Regions from separate parts of the Homo sapiens genome. Here all the other regions are linked to region 5. Evidence: promoter capture Hi-C in 16 types of primary human blood cells and fetal thymus (Javierre and others, 2016). All regions are on one chromosome and are shown on one strand. The core of a region is centred on a gene start or on the middle of the fragment in contact, and the rest is flanking DNA. Distances in the headings are between cores, read along the strand shown.

What was found. The method cuts DNA at HindIII sites, captures the fragments that hold promoters and counts their contacts. A CHiCAGO score of 5 or more calls a contact.
Region 1: a contact is called between the fragment with the promoter of ZNF680 here and the fragment with the promoter of ZNF92 in region 5, in 2 of 17 cell types (naive CD8 T cells and non-activated CD4 T cells). The highest score is 6.6, in naive CD8 T cells.
Region 2: a fragment that was not itself captured here is called in contact with the fragment with the promoter of ZNF92 in region 5 in 1 of 17 cell types (erythroblasts); the score reaches 5.3 in erythroblasts.
Region 3: a fragment that was not itself captured here is called in contact with the fragment with the promoter of ZNF92 in region 5 in 3 of 17 cell types (total CD4 T cells, neutrophils and M2 macrophages); the score reaches 7.4 in total CD4 T cells.
Region 4: a contact is called between a fragment that was not itself captured here and the fragment with the promoter of ZNF92 in region 5, in 1 of 17 cell types (M2 macrophages). The highest score is 5.4, in M2 macrophages.

What each region holds. Positions count from the first base shown.
Region 1 is chr7:64,561,416-64,565,191 of GRCh38, forward strand. ZNF680 (zinc finger protein 680) reads right to left here and starts at 1,656. Exons shown (of 4, transcript NM_178558.5): 1 at 1,510-1,656. The coding sequence starts at 1,539. RefSeq lists an enhancer at 1,245-1,604 and a silencer at 1,705-1,814. The HindIII fragment of the contact is 20,565 bases long and covers 1-3,776 here.
Region 2 is chr7:64,765,060-64,768,412 of GRCh38, forward strand. No RefSeq gene overlaps it. Among named protein-coding and RNA genes, the nearest start is that of ZNF138, 28 kb to the right of the region's middle. The HindIII fragment of the contact is 1,443 bases long and covers 1,271-2,713 here.
Region 3 is chr7:64,666,349-64,669,646 of GRCh38, forward strand. All of the region lies in intron 1 of ZNF107 (zinc finger protein 107), which reads left to right. Among named protein-coding and RNA genes, the nearest start is that of ZNF107, 1.9 kb to the left of the region's middle. RefSeq lists an enhancer at 1-112. The HindIII fragment of the contact is 3,227 bases long and covers 324-3,298 here.
Region 4 is chr7:64,854,660-64,857,999 of GRCh38, forward strand. It overlaps a transcript of ZNF138 not described here. Among named protein-coding and RNA genes, the nearest start is that of ZNF273, 47 kb to the right of the region's middle. RefSeq lists an enhancer at 807-1,363. The HindIII fragment of the contact is 5,494 bases long and covers 1-3,340 here.
Region 5 is chr7:65,372,478-65,375,741 of GRCh38, forward strand. ZNF92 (zinc finger protein 92) reads left to right here and starts at 1,378. Exons shown (of 4, transcript NM_152626.4): 1 at 1,378-1,523. The coding sequence starts at 1,521. RefSeq lists a silencer at 1,243-1,513 and an enhancer at 1,409-1,808. The HindIII fragment of the contact is 7,156 bases long and covers 1-2,972 here.

The DNA.
Region 1 (3,776 bases), core at 406-2,905, 810 kb before region 5:
CCATAAAGTTTCCAAAGGGAAACTGTGACCCCCCAAAATTCTGATAAGATCTCTGTGCCTATGGAAGATAAAAGGAAAAGAGGCGCAGAGATTTTTTACAATAGTGTCCAGGGATTACTCTTTGCTTTCTTCTTACAGAAAATTTTTACAAACGGAAAACAAATCTTTTAAAAAGTACCATCCAATGATTTCTCAAAAAATGATTAATTAAAATATAGTATCAAAAATGTACACTAGGGCCGGGCGCGGTGGCTGACGCCTGTAATCCCAGCACTTTGGGAGGCCGAGGCGGGTGGATTACGAGGTCAGGAGATCAAGACCATCCTGGCTAACTTGGTGAAACCCTGTCCCTACTAAAAATACAAAAAAATTAGCCAGGCGTGGTGGCGGGCGCCTGTAGTCCCAGCTACTCAGGAGGCTGAGGCAGGAGAATGGCGTCAACCCAGGAGGCGGAGCTTGCAGTGAGCCGAGATCGCGCCACTGCACTCCAGCCTGGGCGACAGAGCAAGACTCCGTCTCAAAAAAAAAAAAAATTTACATTAGGCACAGTGGCTCACGCCTGTAATCCCAGCACTTTGAGAGGCCGAGGCGGGCAGATCACAAGGTCAGGAGTTCAAGACCAGCCTGTCCAACATGGTGAAACCCGTCTCTACTAAAAATACAAAAATTAGCCGGGCATGGTGGCGGGCGCCTGTAATCCCAGCTACTCGGGAGGCTGAGACAGGAGAATCACTTGAACCCGGGAGGCAGAGGTTGTAGTGAGCCGAGATCGTGCCACTGCACTTCAGCCTGGGCGACAGAGCGAGACTCCGTTTCAAAAAAAAAAAAAAAAAAATCTAACTCAAATACATTGTTTTTTGTAAAGTATTACATTGGGGGAAATAAAATTCTTGCTTAACCAACTATAAACTGCCAAGTACCCTCCGATTACATAACCAGAAAATTTCCACTTTGATCTTACAAATTAAGAAGTTATGTAACTGTACCTAACCGATTATTGAATTTGGTTTTATTCATCATACACCACTTAAAAGTCTTTCCTTCAAGCCCCTCCCATGGACCACAAATTACAAATCATAGCTGGGTGCTCTACGATTTTTGAACCACTCTTCTATTACATTTTTAAATATATTTGCAGTGACTTCCATGAATTTTTAATAGAAAAAAGGAGGGACTGGGACCCCATGGACCAAAGCGCTTCCCATTTATGAACCCTGCACCCCGAGTTATCGGCAGAGATGCGGCACTGCGGGTGCAGAGCTGCCCAGCGAGGGCTCCAGGCCAAGGCACAGTCACTGCGCAGGGAGGAGACATGACGCCCGGGGTCCGGCTGTCAGCCCAGCCGCCATCTTATGGCTGAAGGGGACTGAGGACCGAGCTGCGCCAAGGACAACTCGGGCCGCGGATTTTGGAGCCCAGTGCTTGGAGCCTGGAGTCCTGCCACAGCCACTTCCGACCGGTTCCAACCAGCCCCTCCCCCTCTCTCGGGGTGTCGGACCGCACTCTCACCATTTCTAGGCTTCCAGGTGGTCCTGGCATCTTAGCTGTGCATCTCCCAATACCTGCAGATAACGGAGTCACAGAGGCTGGGCCTCTAGGAGCAGAATACACAGAGCAGTAAAGACTAGACCTGGAGCTCCCGCAGCAGCTAGAGACAAAGGCCCCGCCAAATCCCGGAAGCCGTCCTGTCCGCTCCAGCTGCGTGCCTGATTGGACGGGTCCCAGCCCCGCGTCCCTGATTGGATAATGTTTAGGGCGCCACCCCCTAATGCCCTGAGTGACAGAATATGTGCTCAGCGGCTGGGCTGAACGTAGAAAGAGTGAAATCCAAGCTGCAGGGTTCTCAGGGAAGGGCTTCCTCCCTGAACGGACCAGGCTCACACCAGAGAGTATTTGCATATAACCCTGCGTATAAGGTCGTATGCCTTTATAAATAATATATTATGTGGCTATTCACACATGAAAATAATGCAATAACAATTATTTAAAATTTTCCAATTTTATGAGCTCCTGGCTTCTTGTCCTTTGAGCGGGTAGCCTGACATTTTTTTTTAAAAAGGCAGTCCTCTGAAATTGAATGTGAGCCACGTGAATTCTAAATTTTCTAGAAGGAAAATTTTAAAAAGAAAAAAAAACAGGAGGAATTCATTGTAGAAATTTAATTAACCCAATATATCCAAAATATTATCATTTTAATATGTGACCAGTATGTAATTATTAACAAAGTATATATATTTTGGAAAAAAAATTAAAACTATGTATTTTACCTTTCTACCACATCGCAGTTCAGACCAGCCACATTCCATGCACCCAGTAGCCACAGGTGGCCAATAGCTGCCACATTGAAGTGCAGCTCTGATGGCAGAAGATGAAATCCTGAACATCCCTTTTCTTTTTTCTTTTCTTTTCTTCCTTTCTTTTTATTTCCTTTCTCTTCTCTTCTTTTCTTTCTTTTCCTTTCTCTTCTCTTCTTTTCTTTTCAAACAGAGTCTTGCTCTTATGTCCAGGCTGGAGTGCAGTGGTGCAATCTCGGCTCACTGCAATCTCCACATTCCGGATTCAAGCAATTCTCCTGCCTTATTTTCCCCAGAGTAGCTGTGATTACAGGCATGTGCCACCATGCCTGGCTTATTTTTGTATTTTTAGTAGAAATGGAATTTTGCCATGTCAGCCAGGCTGGACTCAAACCCCTGACCTTAAGTAATCCTTCTGTCTCATCCTCCCAAAGTGCTGGGATTACAGCCATGAGCCACCACACTGGGCTTGAACATCCTTTTCCTGCCATAAATAAGGGGAAAGTCTTTCCCTACCAACATCTCTCTTCAGTTCCAAGGGTAGAACAGATAGTGGCCATAGAAAGAGCAGAGGACAGCAGGAATAAAATAACAACAGGAAGACCACCTGTTGCCCACCTTTCTTCCAGAGATCAGACAGTGAACAAAGGACGATGGGGCCACAGAAGAAGAATGCTCTATGTCTACAGATCCCTCCCTGGTCTTTCTTTTTCTTTTTTTCTTTTTTGAGACAGAGTTTTGCTCTTGTCACCCAGGCTGGAGTGCAATGGCGTGATCTCAACTCACTGCAACCTCTACCTCCCGGGTTCAAGTGATTCTAGTGCCTCAGCCTCCCGAATAGCTGGGATTACAGGCATGTGCCACCAAACCTGGCTAATTTTGTATTTTTAGTAGAGATGGGGTTTCTCCATGTTGGTCAGGGTTGTCTCAAACTCCCAACCTCAGGTGATCTGCCCACCTTGGCCTCCCAAAGTGCTGGGATTACAGGCATGAGCCACCACGCTCGGAAAACATTTTTATCTTCTAAACAAAACTCAATACCCCTGAAACAACTGCCCAATTTCCTATTATTTATCTTTTTCAAAATATCATTTTGGTTTCTGTTTCTAGCTATCTCATGTAAGTGGATTCGGACAGTATCTGTTTTTTGTGATTGTATACTTTATTTATGTTATTAAGATTCACCTCATTTTTTAATGTTACATTTCCTGATTTTGAAAAGTTGAGTTTAATATCTTCACTTATATCTTATTGTACACAGGAGAATTTATACTGGAGAGAAACCCTCAATCAGTTGTTGACACTTTCTTCAACTTTAGGAAATTTGTATTTTAGACAGACCCTATGAATAATATAATAAATAGAGAAAAACCATTTGTTCTAAGAAGTATACCTTAGAAAACACCAGAGTGTTCACATTAAATAATATTCTTCAAATTCAGTAAATGTAAAAAAAATTAGAAATCAAGTAGAAGTAATCAT
Region 2 (3,353 bases), core at 742-3,241, 610 kb before region 5:
ATGTATAGTCAATCGCTAACCAGTTATTTATATAAAACAATAAGAATTTTTGACAGATAACTTTGTATCAGTACCCTCTCTGCCTTCCTTTTTTGCCTTTAAAAATACACACTTACAACTGCTTCTAATTGGAGGGTATATTCAGGGCAACTTTTTACTCCAGGGTTGCAATCTTTAAGATTTAGCCAAAATAAACTCTCTACTTATATTATGTTTACCCCAGCTTTTTCCTTTTAGGTCAAAATACTTTTTACAATGTGTTGAAAAAAATTCCATGAGAGGATCTCTCCTCTGGTTTTACTTGGCTTGCTGTAAACCCCAAAAAGGGAGAGTCACTTTGATTTCACCTAAAATCTGCACATAAAAGCTGGTCTCTGCCTTGGATTCACAAGACAGGGCCAGACTTTGGGTTGAAGACATGCAGAAAACTCACAGAAGACATTTTCTGCACCATGAGCGATGAATATAGACATCTTAAGCTTTGCTTTTAGAGTGGAGCCCTTTGCCATGTCCAGATCTTGTTCCCAGTGTCCTGCTACAGCTGTGTAAGAGGCTTCTGGTGTCAACAGAATCCTGTGGTAGAATCTGTAAGTTAAACAAGCACCTTAGCAGTGGGAGGTCAGGGCCACAAAATATCCAGAGCCATAATCACTACTATACCTCCCTGTAAACTGTGTTACTGGAGTAGAGTATTTTCATCTTTTCTCTTACCCCAGAGTTAGCTGATCAGGGACAAGGAGTATCACATCCTGATCCACCTGGTGGATCTGCAGCTGGTCTGCAGCTCCACCAGGGCAGTTCCACTTATTATCTGTAGCCCAGAAAGTCACCCTGAGTCTCCTGCCTGGATCACTCTGGGGGCATCAGCCTAGGATCAGTGAAGACACTCTCACCCTCATTTGTGAGGGTTTGAGACATTTGAGGATGTCCTGTGCAGGCTGGGGTCAGGCTTATAACAAAATCTAATTCTGTTCCCATTTCAGAGGAAGAACAGTGACTCATCCAGGGTTTGTTTCTCCCTTCATAGAACATTCTTTTTGGTTTGTACTAGGATGGGAGTTTCTCTGGTTCTTTGGCAAAAAATGAATAGATCTGGATGCTCAAACTGGTCAGTCAGTGAATTTCTTCTCTTTCATATGGCCATTAGAGAAACAGATGAAGCTGTCATGGCCTCTACCATCTGGAAACTTGCAGTCTGGAGCACATAAATACATGGTTGAATTTCACATCATGTGATTAGTGCAAGGATGGAAGGTGCACAGGGAACTTAAGCTTCATTTGGGTCATTTTCCTTTTATTGTTACCTGAGTTTTTATGCCACCTCTGGAAGGGCTATTCATGGACAGAAGAGAAGTTGTTATTATTATTATTTATATTGCTTCTACTCAGCAGCATTGAGATTAGAAGCCTAGGGCCCATTCTCTGTCCCAAACCTGCCCAGATTCACCCTATGCTGAATCTTGTCCCAGTCTGACTCTACACGGGAATCTCTGACAGAACTGCTTAAAGGAGGTCAGAGTTTGGGGTGGTTGCTCCTACTGCCTCTCCAGAGCTGGTGCTCACAATTTTCTGAAATCCAAAAGCAGATAAATGGGAAAAAAAAGCTGTATACTTGGAACCTTAAAATCTTTTTTTTTTTTAATTAAAGCAGGTGCTTCTAGAGACATCCCATCCCTGTGGTTTTAGTAGTTTCTCGACAAGTCTCAATAAAATACAAACACAAAAATTAAAAATCCCTCTGAACTGCACTTAACACTTCCTTTCTGTATCTCTCCCATCTATCTATAACTATTATTGAGCTATTATTCTATATATTTTCTTTTTAAAATCAGTAATAGGGAAACAGAAGAAGAAATAGAAATGCTAGACCCTGTATTTAAATCCTGAATATTATTGGACTCTTAGTACCCATGTCCCAGTGTGTTAAAAAAAAAAAAACTTACATAATATGAGGCCAGCACAGTGCTCTGTGACATACTCCTGAGCACATAGTACATTCTGCATAAACATTGCATTAATGTATGTGCACATGTTGTTTTCCAAATGCAGATTTACTCAGACATTGCTACCATCTCCAGCCTCTGTAATATCTTTTTTTTTTTTTTGAGATGGAGTTTTGCTCTTGTTGCCCAGGCTGGAGTGCAATGGTGTGATCTTGGCTCACCAAAACCTCCACCTCCCGGGTTCAAGCGATTCTCTTGCCTCAGCCTCCCAAGTAGCTGCAATTACAGGCATGTGCCATCACACCCAGCTTTGTATTTTTTATATTTGTTGTATTTTTATATTTTTTATATTTTTAGTAGAGATGGGGTTTCTCCATGTTGGTCAGGCTGGTCTTGAACTCCTGACCTCAGGTGATCTGCCAGCCTCGGCCTCCCAAAGTGCTGGGATTACAGGCATGAGCCACCCGACTCCAGCCTCTGTAATCTTTAAAGGGCCTGCAAAGAATGTCATGTTTTAGGCTGGCGATTGGTGGTTCTTTCTTTGGATGAAAAGGATTTGTGTTGTGATAAGGATGTTGGAGTAAGGGACTCTGTGCTGTGCCTGCTTTCTGTAGCTGAGTGCTACTACAATGGTGTTAGAAGGAGCAGCATCTGCATTAACAGGGAACTTGTTAAAATAAGCTAATTCATGGACCTTTTGCAAACCTGCAGCATTATGTTACTTACTTACAGTGAGGCCTGAAATACCAAAACATTTATATGCACATTGAAGCTTGAGAGGCACTGCTTAGCTAAGTGATTCTCTGCCCAGTCTTCCAATAGGATCACCTGACCAGTTTGAAGAGATACCATACCCTGTGCCTCCCCACAGAATCTTTCTGTTGTTTTGTGTGGAAACATCCCTGTTTTTTAATTAAGTGCCTCACATGATTCTACAGTGAGGCCGGGATCAAGTGTGCGGACTTCCAGATACTTTATTTAAAAAAGGTTGAGTTCACCTTTTGTTCCAAATGAAAGTCACAGGGTCTGCTGTGCTTGGGTTTGGTAAGGGCAAGTCAGTGCGGCCCATATTTCCATTGCAGAAGCAAAAATTGCTGGTATGTCATCCTTTTTTCTCAGAGTTATAGAATGGCTTAGAGAGTATTACTGTGTTAAAAATGTATATAAGGATGTGATGTTAGAAAATGACAGAAACCTGATCTTCCTGGGTGAGGATAACTTTAATACATAATTCCTAGTAATCCTCAGAGTTTTATTTTCTCTCTTTGTAGAATGTTTCTTGGGAGATTCTGCTTTGCATGAATTAATTTTAGTTTCTTTCTTCAAGAATTGGAAGTTTGCTCGTCTAGAAAACAAATCTTTAAGATGTTTTATCTTGGCATAAAGCTTCTCTTTTCTTGAGCTGATTTG
Region 3 (3,298 bases), core at 687-3,186, 710 kb before region 5:
GGCTGTGGCTGGACTCGGGCCTCCAAAGTCCGCGGCCCCAAGTTCTCCTTGGCGCAGCTCGGCCCTCAGTCCCCCGCGGCCCCGAGTTCTCCTTGGCGCAGCTCGGTCCTCAGTCCCCTTCAGCCGTAAGATGGCGGCTGGGCTGACAGCCGGGACCCTGGGCGTCCTGTCTCCTCCCTGCTCAGTGACTGTGCCCTGGCCTGGAGCCCTCTCCGGGCGGCTTTGCACCCGCAGCGCGGCATCTCTCCCCGATTGTGCAGGGATGCCGGGAGGGTCATCAGGGGAGAATCCTGACTCGGGATGCGGGGTTCATGAATGGGAAAAGCTTTAGTCTGTGGGGTTCCTAGTCCATCTTTTTTCTCTTAAAAATCTATGGAAGTCACCACAAAAATGTTAAAGAATTTAATCAAAGAGTAATTGAAGAATTATAGAGCACCCAGCTGTGGTTTGTAGTTTATTTTCCATGGGAGGGGCTTGAAGAAAAGACTTTTAGAAGGTGCATGATAAAGGAAAGCAAACTCAATAATTGGTTAGGTAGAGTTACGTAGTTTCTTAGTTTTAGATGAAGGTGGAAATTTTCTGGTCACGTAATCAGAGCTTAATTGGCAGTTCATGGTTGATTAAGTCTAAATTTTGTTTTCCCCAATGTAGTAATTTACAAAAAAAAAGCATTTGAGTTAGATTTTTTAAAAAGTAAAAACCCTGGGACTAGAGCCACCTCAGTCTAATTGCCTGCCATTTAGTTATTTTCACACTCCACAGGGGACAGATTTTCCCCTGCAACTTTCACGTGTCTCAAGCAGGGTCTCAAGACTACTCCCTATTCCCCATTCTTTTAGCCTAACTGACTTTCAGTAAAATGCTAAATTTCCAGTTTCCTTTGACATTCCCAAATCCCAGCTTCCCCTCCCTAATTCACATTATCAACTATTTGTCCTTTAGTGTACATTTTAGATACTGTATTTTAATTAATCATTGTTGACAAATTATTGGGTGGCACTTTAAACAAATTGTTTGCTGTTTGAAAATATTTCCAATGAGAAGAAAACAAAAAATAATCCCCTGACACTGTATTGTAAAAAAAAGTCTGTGCCTATTTTCCTTTTATCTTCCCTAGGCGCAGAGATCTTATCAGAATGTTTTTGGGTCAAGGTTTCCCTTTGGAAACTTTACAGGGTGATGTGTCCTCAGCCACCTTTCGGTTTTCTCCTGGTCCTGGGTTTCAGTACTGTCTGGGGATAAATCAAGATATCAACTGTGGCTGTGTATGCTAGAATCTCTAGTAAATTTCAGCTCCTGGCCTGGAATGGAACTCTGGGTATCTGGGAATGGGAGACAGAGGACAATCTGAGGTTGGAGTGTAGCCTCTCAAGGGAGCAGGTGGATGCCCTGGGGCTGAGAGGAATCTCCTGGTATACCCTTCCTTTGGAAAGCTAACCCTTTGAGGCATTAAGATTGTGTTCACTCAACCCGACTTCCATTTCTCAGAGGTACATTGCTGGTCAGCCAATCAGATGCTGGTATTGAGAGGAAAACTCAGAAATAATTTCTGCCCCCTGGATTCTCTAAGATTTGTGAAAGAAAAAATAGTATTCCAGAAGACAAAAAAAAAAAAAAATCAAACTTGACCCCAGTGAGATGGTACAAGAACTTGCAAAATGAAATGCACTTGGAGTAGTCACTGAGGCATAGGGCAGTGTCTACAGAGAGGGTGGTCATTGGGCACTTAAATGAGCAGGATGGGGTAGGAGAATCTAGTGTTTGGGTGGCCTGACTTGACACATGAGTCAGACACATCTGTTTTCTTTTTTTTTATTATTATTATACTTTAAGTTTTAGGGTACATGTGCATAACGTGCAGGTTTGTTACATATGTACACATGTGCCCTGTTGGTGTGCTGCACCCAGTAACTCGTCATTTAGCATTAGGTATATCTCCTAATGCTATCCCTCCCCCCTCCCCCCACCCCACAGCAGGCCCCAGTGTGTGATGTTCCCCTTCCTGTGTCCATGTGTTCTCATTGTTCAATTCCCACCTATAAGTGAGAACATGCGGTGTTTGGTTTTTTGTCCTTGCTGAGAACGATGGTTTCCAGCTTTATCCATGTCCCTGCAAAGGCCATGAACTCATCAGACACATCTGTTTTCTAATCAGCCCCGCCACTCCCTGGGTTTGTCACCTTGAAAAGATTTGTTCACTTATTTTGATTTCAGTTTTATAACTGTAACTTGCATTTTATTAGTATGATTTAAAAGTTAAGAAAATATTTACAGAGCATAAAAGAGGTGAGTTTCAGAGAAAAATAATATCTAATCATATATTCCATTTATTAAGAATTCTCATTTACCTTTTTCTTTCCCAGACTTAGTTTAGGAATTTACTCAGGTGTGTTTTTTATGGCTGGGTGATGTCCAACGGTATTCCAAGGCTTAGTTTTTAGAGTGCTAGCAGGGAAACAAAAAGGAAAAAAACCTCTCTTCCATTTTGACTGTAGAAAATGAATACATTTTTACAAGAAAATGTGGTAGATAATTGATGAGTTACATAGATTTATGAAAGCATCAGTTCCTCTTTTTGCAGGGTACTTTTGTTACAGTAAATACCTCTGTTCTATATCCTATCATCTTGATTTGTGAGGATAACGCTAATTTTTTTTTTTTTTTTTTTTTTTTTTTTTTTTTTTTGAGATGGAGTCTCGCTCTGTTGCTCAGGCTGAAGGGCAGTGGTGCGATCTCGGCTCACTGAAACCTCCGCCTTCCGGGCTCAAGCAATTCTCCTGCCTCAACCTCGCAAGTAGCTGGGATTACAGGCATGCACCACCATGCCCAGGTAATTTTTGTAGTTTTATTAGACACGGGGTTTCACCATGTTGGGCAGGCTGGCCTTGAACTCCTGACCTCAAGTGATCTGCCTGCCTTGGTCTCCCAAGGGATTACAGGCATGAGCCACTGCACCCAGCTGGTTAATGCTAAATTTTATGAGATGAAAGTTGGTACCTCCTAGAAGTATGACTTCTTGATTACTAATCCCATATGACTAATTGATTACTACCTAATTTTTAATGAAAATAATAGAATAATACATTTATCGTCTGAAAGAAATAAATACTTTGCATTTCTTACTGAGGTATGAAATGTAAGCACCTTAAAATTTCCTTCCCTTGGTTGGGTGCAGTGGCTCACGCCTGTAATCCCAGCACTTTGGGAGGCTGAGGCAGGCGGATCACCTGAGGTCAAGAGTTCAAGACCAGCCTGGCCAACATGGTGAAGCCCCGTCTCTACTGAAAAATTAGCCAGG
Region 4 (3,340 bases), core at 141-2,640, 520 kb before region 5:
CATCTTTTCAATGGCTTGGCATAATTGACATGCTTTTTGAAATGGCCAGATTACTGACAAGAAGCAAAGAGAAGATTTAGACTTCGGTCTATCGTTAAGGTTTTTATTTTTGAAATCTAAAATCCTGGCTAAAGGATTTGAAGAGAGTATTCTTTAGGTGGCTTCCTAGGGTTTTCAAGGCAATACAAATAATTTTCATGGGTAGGAAAATGCATACTATATACATACATTGCTTTTCTCTGATTTAACATTAAAAGATTGAAGATTGCAAATCTAATCTCTCAATTTAGAATAAATTAAAGGATTTATTTTTCAGCCAAGCAAATAATTATATTGAATTAATAGGTAACAAATGTCATTAGCTGACAAAAGATAGTATGACTAGATTCAGTAAGTATGTAGCCATGTAACTAACAGTCCATTAAATTAAGGCCCTTATAGGTGCGTGTGGACATCATTTCTGTACAATGTCATGCACCTCCACCCAGCACCTTCATTTGCCTGTTTACAGAGATACCAATTTCCCCTGAGTGACTCAGGGTGAATACTAAGAATTGAGAATGCTGTGTTCAGAGGGATTACTAGGAACATATTATAAAGAAATTCTGTAAATCTTACTCTGCCTCCCAAAGGCTATTAGTAAACAATTGTTTATTTACAGTGCTCAATTGAATTCATGGAAAATTTCAATATTCCTGGTAAGTCAGAGACGCTTAAATGTCAACAAAATTTCATAATACATACATGAATGAGATAAAGTCTTCTTAGTTAAGAATTTTATTTTATCTTGCGTGCAAAAATGTAAGGGGGCCTCTCCCTCTCCCTCTCCCTCTCCGTCTCCCTCTCCCTCTCCGTCTCCCTCTCCCTCTCCCTCTCCCTCTCACTCTCCCCACGGTCTCCCTCTCATGCGGAGCCGAAGCTGGACTGTACTGCTGCCATCTCGGCTCACTGCAACCTCCCTGCCTGATTCTCCTGCCTCAGCCTGCCGAGTGCCTGCGATTGCAGGCACGCGCCGCCACACCTGACTGGTCTTGGTGGAGACGGGGTTTCGCTGTGTTGGCCGGGCCGGTCTCCAGCCCCTAACCGCGAGTGATCCGCCAGCCTTGGCCTCCCGAGGTGCCAGGATTGCAGACGGAGTCTCGTTCACTCAGTGCTCAATGGTGCCCAGACTGGAGTGCAGTGGCGTGATCTCGGCTCGCTACAACCTACACCTCCCAGCCGCCTGCCTTGGCCTCCCAAAGTGCCGAGATTGCAGCCTCTGCCCGGCCGCCACCCCATCTGGGAAGTGAGGAGCGTCTCTGCCTGGCTGCCCATCGTCTGGGATGTGAGGAGCCTCTCTGCCTGGCTGCCCAGTCTGGAAAGTGAGGAGCGTCTGCGCCCGGCCGCCATCCCATCTAGGAAGTGAGGAGCGCCTCTTCCCAGCCGCCATCACATCTAGGAAGTGAGGAGCGTCTCTGCCCGGCCGCCCATCGTCTGAGATGTGGGGAGCGCCTCTGCCCCGCCGCCCCATCTGGGATGTGAGGAGTGCCTCTGCCCGGCCGAGACCCCGTCTGGGAGGTGAGGAGCGTCTCTGCCCGGCCGCCCCGTCTGAGAAGTGAGGAGACCCTCTGCCTGGCAACCACCCCGTCTGAGAAGTGAGGAGCCCCTCCGCCCGGCAGCTGCCCCGTCTGAGAAGTGAGGAGCCTCTCCGCCCGGCAGCCACCCCATCTGGGAAGTGAGGAGCGTCTCTGCCCGGCAGCCACCCCGTCCGGGAGGGAGGTGGGGGGGTCAGCCCCTGCCCGGCCAGCCGCCCCATCCGGGAGGGAGGTCGGGGGTCAGCCCCCCGCCCGGCCAGCCGCCCCGTCCGGGAGGTGAGGGGCGCCTCTGCCCGGCCACCCCTACTGGGAAGTGAGGAGCCCCTCAGCCTGGCCAGCTGCCCCGTCCGGAGGGAGGTGGGGGGGTCAGCCCTCCGCCCGGCCAGCCGCCCCGTCTGGGAGGTGAGGGGCGCCTCTGCCCGGCCGCCCCTACTGGGAAGTGAGGAGCCCCTCTGCCCGGCCAGCCGCCCCGTCCGGGAGGGAGGTGGGGGGGTCAGCCCCCCGCCCAGCCAGCCGCCCTGTCCGGGAGGGAGGTGGGGGGGTCAGCCCTCCGCCCGGCCAGCTGCCCCGTCTGGGAGGTGAGGGGCGCCTCTGCCCGGCCGCCCCTACTGGGAAGTGAGGAGCCCCTTTGCCCGGCCAGCCGCCCAGTCTGGGAGGGAGGTGGGGGGGTCAGCCCCCTGCCCGGCCAGCTGCCCGTCCGGGAGGTGAGGGGCACCTCTGCCCGGCCGCCCCTACTGGGAAGTGAGGAGCCCCTCTGCCCGGCCAGCTGCCCCGTCTGGGAGGGAGGTGGGGGGGGGTCAGCCCCCCCGCCCGGCCAGCTGCCCCGTCCGGGAGGTGAGGGGCGCCTCTGCCCGGCCGCCCCTACTGGGAAGTGAGGAGCCCCTCTGCCCAGCCACCACCCCGTCTGGGAGGTGTGCCCAACAGCTCATTGAGAACGGGCCATGATGACAATGGCGGTTTTGTGGAATAGAAAAGGGGGAAAGGTGGGGAAAAGATTGAGAAATCGGATGGTTGCTGTGTCTGTGTAGAAAGAAGTAGACATGGGAGACTTTTCATTTTGTTCTGCACTAAGAAAAATTCTTCTGCCTTGGGATCCTGTTGATCTGTGACCTTACCCCCAACCCTGTGCTCTCTGAAACATGTGCTGTGTCCACTCAGGGTTAAATGGATTAAGGGCGGTGCAAGATGTGCTTTGTTAAACAGATGCTTGAAGGCACCATGCTCGTTAAGAGTCATCACCAATCCCTAATCTCAAGTAATCAGGGACACAAACACTGCGGAAGGCCGCAGGGTCCTCTGCCTAGGAAAACCAGAGACCTTTGTTCACTTGTTTATCTGCTGACCTTCCCTCCACTATTGTCCCATGACCCTGCCAAATCCCCCTCTGTGAGAAACAACCAAGAATTATCAATAAAAAAATAAATTTAAAAAAAAAAAAAAAAAAAAAAAGAATTTTATTTTATCAGTAAATTTAGAGAAGAATTAAAAAAAAACAGTGCTTTGGGCAAAATAACAGTGGCACATCAGTACCACCCAAACAAGTGCTTTTCATCATCATCGTTAAAGTCGCAATAGCACCACATGCTTTCCTGGGACCAGGTGGCCTGTTTCCCACTGATATAAAGTGGAGACAGCATTGAAATAGCAAAGGAGGGTGATATAAATTGGATACCTATATAAAATACAAATTTTAATAAAAAGCGTTTGATATTGTAGAACTATAGATGAGACTATTAGTATGAGATCATAATATTTTTACTTCTTTT
Region 5 (3,264 bases), core at 128-2,627:
ACACACTCTGGCCACTAGGGCCAGGCCAAATAGCAAAATAAGTTTACCTTTAATCTGTTTTCTCTATACTTAAACACTGGAAGTGATGACTGTGGAGAGATCTGAAGACATAGCGTTTAATCTCCTGTGGCCCCATCATCTTTTGGTTACTGTCTGATCTCTGGAAGAAAGGTGGGCAACAGGTGGCCAGCAGTGGTGTACCTGTGGTTATTTTATTCTTGCTGCCCTCTGCTCTTTCTATGGTGACTATCTTGTTCCACCCTCAAAACTGTAGAAAGATGTTGGTAAAGAGAGGCTGTCCCCTCACTTCTGGCAGAAAAGGGGTGTTCAGACCCTTCACCCTCCTGATGTCAGGGCTGCATTTCAATGTGGCAGCTATTGGCCATGTGTAGCTACTGGCTGCCTGGAATGTGGCTGGTCTGAATTGCAATGTGCTAGAAAGGTAAAATAGAGTTAATTTCAAAGATTCAGTTCCAAATAAATATATATACTTTATTAATAATTACATATCACTCACATATTAGAATAAGGTTTTAGATATATTGGGTTAAATTGTTACAATCAATTTCACCTGTTTCTTGTTTCTTTTTAAAGTTTGGCTGCTAAAAAATGTACAATTCACGTGTCGCCCACATTTTATTTTAGAGGATTGCCTTCTTTTTAAAATTTCAGGCTGCCTGCTTAAAAAAACAGAAGTTGGCCGGGCTCTGTGGCTCACACCTGTAATCCCAGCACTTTGGGAGACCGAGGCGGGCGGATCACAAGATCAAGAGATCAAGACCATCCTGGCCAACATGGTGAAACCCCGTCTCTACTAAAAATACAAAAATTAGCTGGGTGTGGTGGCGTGCGCCTGTAGTCCCAGTTCCTCGGGAGGCTGAGACAGGAGAATCGCTTGAACCTGGGAGGCGGAGGTTGCAGCGAGTTGAGCTCGTGCCACTGCACTCCAGCCTGGCGACAGAGCTAGACTCTGTCTCAAAAAACAAAAACCAAAAACAAAACAAAACAACAAAACCAGAAGCCAGGAAGGTCATAAAATCTGAAAATTTTGAATAATTGGTATTATATTCTTTGCATTTGTGAATAGACATATAATATACTATTTATAAATGCATATGGCCTTATTCACAAGGTTAAATGCAAATACTGTCTGGGGTGGGCCTGACTCAGCTCAGGGAGGAAGCCCCGTCTGAAAAGGCTGCAGCTTAGGCTGTCACTCTTCCTTCAGTCCAGCATCTGATCACATCTCCCGTCACTCAGGGCCCGAAGGGGCGGGGCCTTAAACGTTATCCAATCAGGAACGCTGGGCTGGGAACCATCCAATCAGGCACGCAACTGGAGCGGACAGCACAGCTTCCGGGATTTGGCGGGGCCTTTGTCTCTCGCTGCAGCCGGCGCTCCACGTCTAGTCTTCACTGCTCTGCGTCCTGTGCTGATAAAGGCTCGCCGCTGTGACCCTGTTACCTGCAAGAACTTGGAGGTTCACAGCTAAGACGCCAGGACCCCCTGGAAGCCTAGAAATGGTGAGCCTGCTGGGTCCCACATCCCGAGAGAGGGGGAGGGTCTGGCTGGAACCGATTGGAAGTGGCTGTGGCGGGCCTCGGGCCTTCCCGCAGTCGGCTCCGAGATCCGCGGCCCGAGTTCTCCTTGGCGCAGCTCGGCCCTCAGTCTCCTTCAGCCATAAGATGGCGGCTGGGCTGACAGCCGGGACCCCGGGCGTCCTGTCTCCTCCCTGCGCAGTGACTGTGCTTTGGCCTGGAGCCCTCCCTGGGCAGCTCTGCACCCGCAGCGTCGCATCTCTCGCCGAGTGTGCAGGGACGACGGGAGAATAGTAAAGAGAAGAATCCTGACTCGGGGTGCGGGGTTTATGAATGGGAAGAGCTTTGGTCCGTGTGGTTCTCAGGTCCTCTTTTTTCCTATTAAAAATTTATGGGAGTCAAGGTAAAAATATTGAAGAATTTAATCAAAGAGCGATTCAGGAATTTTAGAGCACCCAGCTATGATTTGTAGTTTGTGGTCCGTGGGAGGGGCTTGAAGGAAACACTTTTATAAGATGCATAATGAAAAAAAACAAGTTTAATAATTGGTTAGGTACAGTTACGTCGTTTTTTAATTTGTATGATTAAGGTAGAAATTTCCTGGTCATGTAATCAGAGATTGTCAGTTTATAGTTGGTTAAGCCTGAATTTTGTTCCCTCGGTGTTATTTACCCTCCCCTCCCCCCGCCAAAAATGCATTTGAATTATATTTTTTTTAAAGTAGGAACCCAGGGACTAGAGCCACCTCAATCTAATTGCCTGCCACTTAATTATTTTCACATCCACAGGGGACTGATTTTCCCCTGCAGTTTTCACATGTGTCCCAAGCAGGGTCTCAAGTCTACCCCCCATCCCTCATTCCTCCAGCTTAATTCTGGCTTGCAGTAAAATACTAAATTTCCAGTTCCTTCTGACATTCCCAAATGCCAACTTACCCTCCCTAATTCGCATTAGCAAGTGTGTTTCCTTTAGTGTACATTTTCGATGGCATATTTTAATTAATCATTTTTGGCAAAGCATTGGATGGCACGTTTTAAAAGATTTGTTTCCTGTTTGTAAATATTTCCTATGAGAAGAAAGCAAAGAATAATCCCCTAACATTGTATTGTAAATCTCTGTGCCTCTTTTCTTTTTATCTTCCTTAGGCACAGAGATCTTATCAGAATGTTTTTGGGTCATGGTTGCTTTCCCTTTGGAAACTTTATGGGGTGATGTGTTCTCAGCCACCCTTCAGTTCTTTTTCTGGTCCTGGGTTTTAGTACTGTCTGGGGCAAGATACCTACCATGGCAATGTCGCTAGAGTGTCTAGTAAATATCAGCTCCTGGGTCATTTTCTCTCGTAGAATAACCTGAAGTATGGAATGTAGCTTCTCAAGGGAGCAGGTGGATGCCCTGGGGCTGAGAAGCATCTCCTGGGCTACTCTTCCTTTGAAAAGCTTACCCCTTGAGATATTAAGATTGTCTTCACTCAACCCAGCTTTCATTTCTTGGAGAAACATTGCTGGTCAGCCAATCAGATGCTGGTACTGGGAGGAAAACACCAAAATTATTTCTGTCCCCAGGATTCTCTAAGATTTGTGGAAAAAAAAAAAGTATTCCAAAAGATACAACAAAACCTGACCTGGAGATCGAGACCATCCTGGCCAATATGGTGAAAGCCGGTTTCTACTAAAATACAAAAAATTAGCCAGGCATGGTGGTGCATGCCTGTAATCCCAGCTACTCG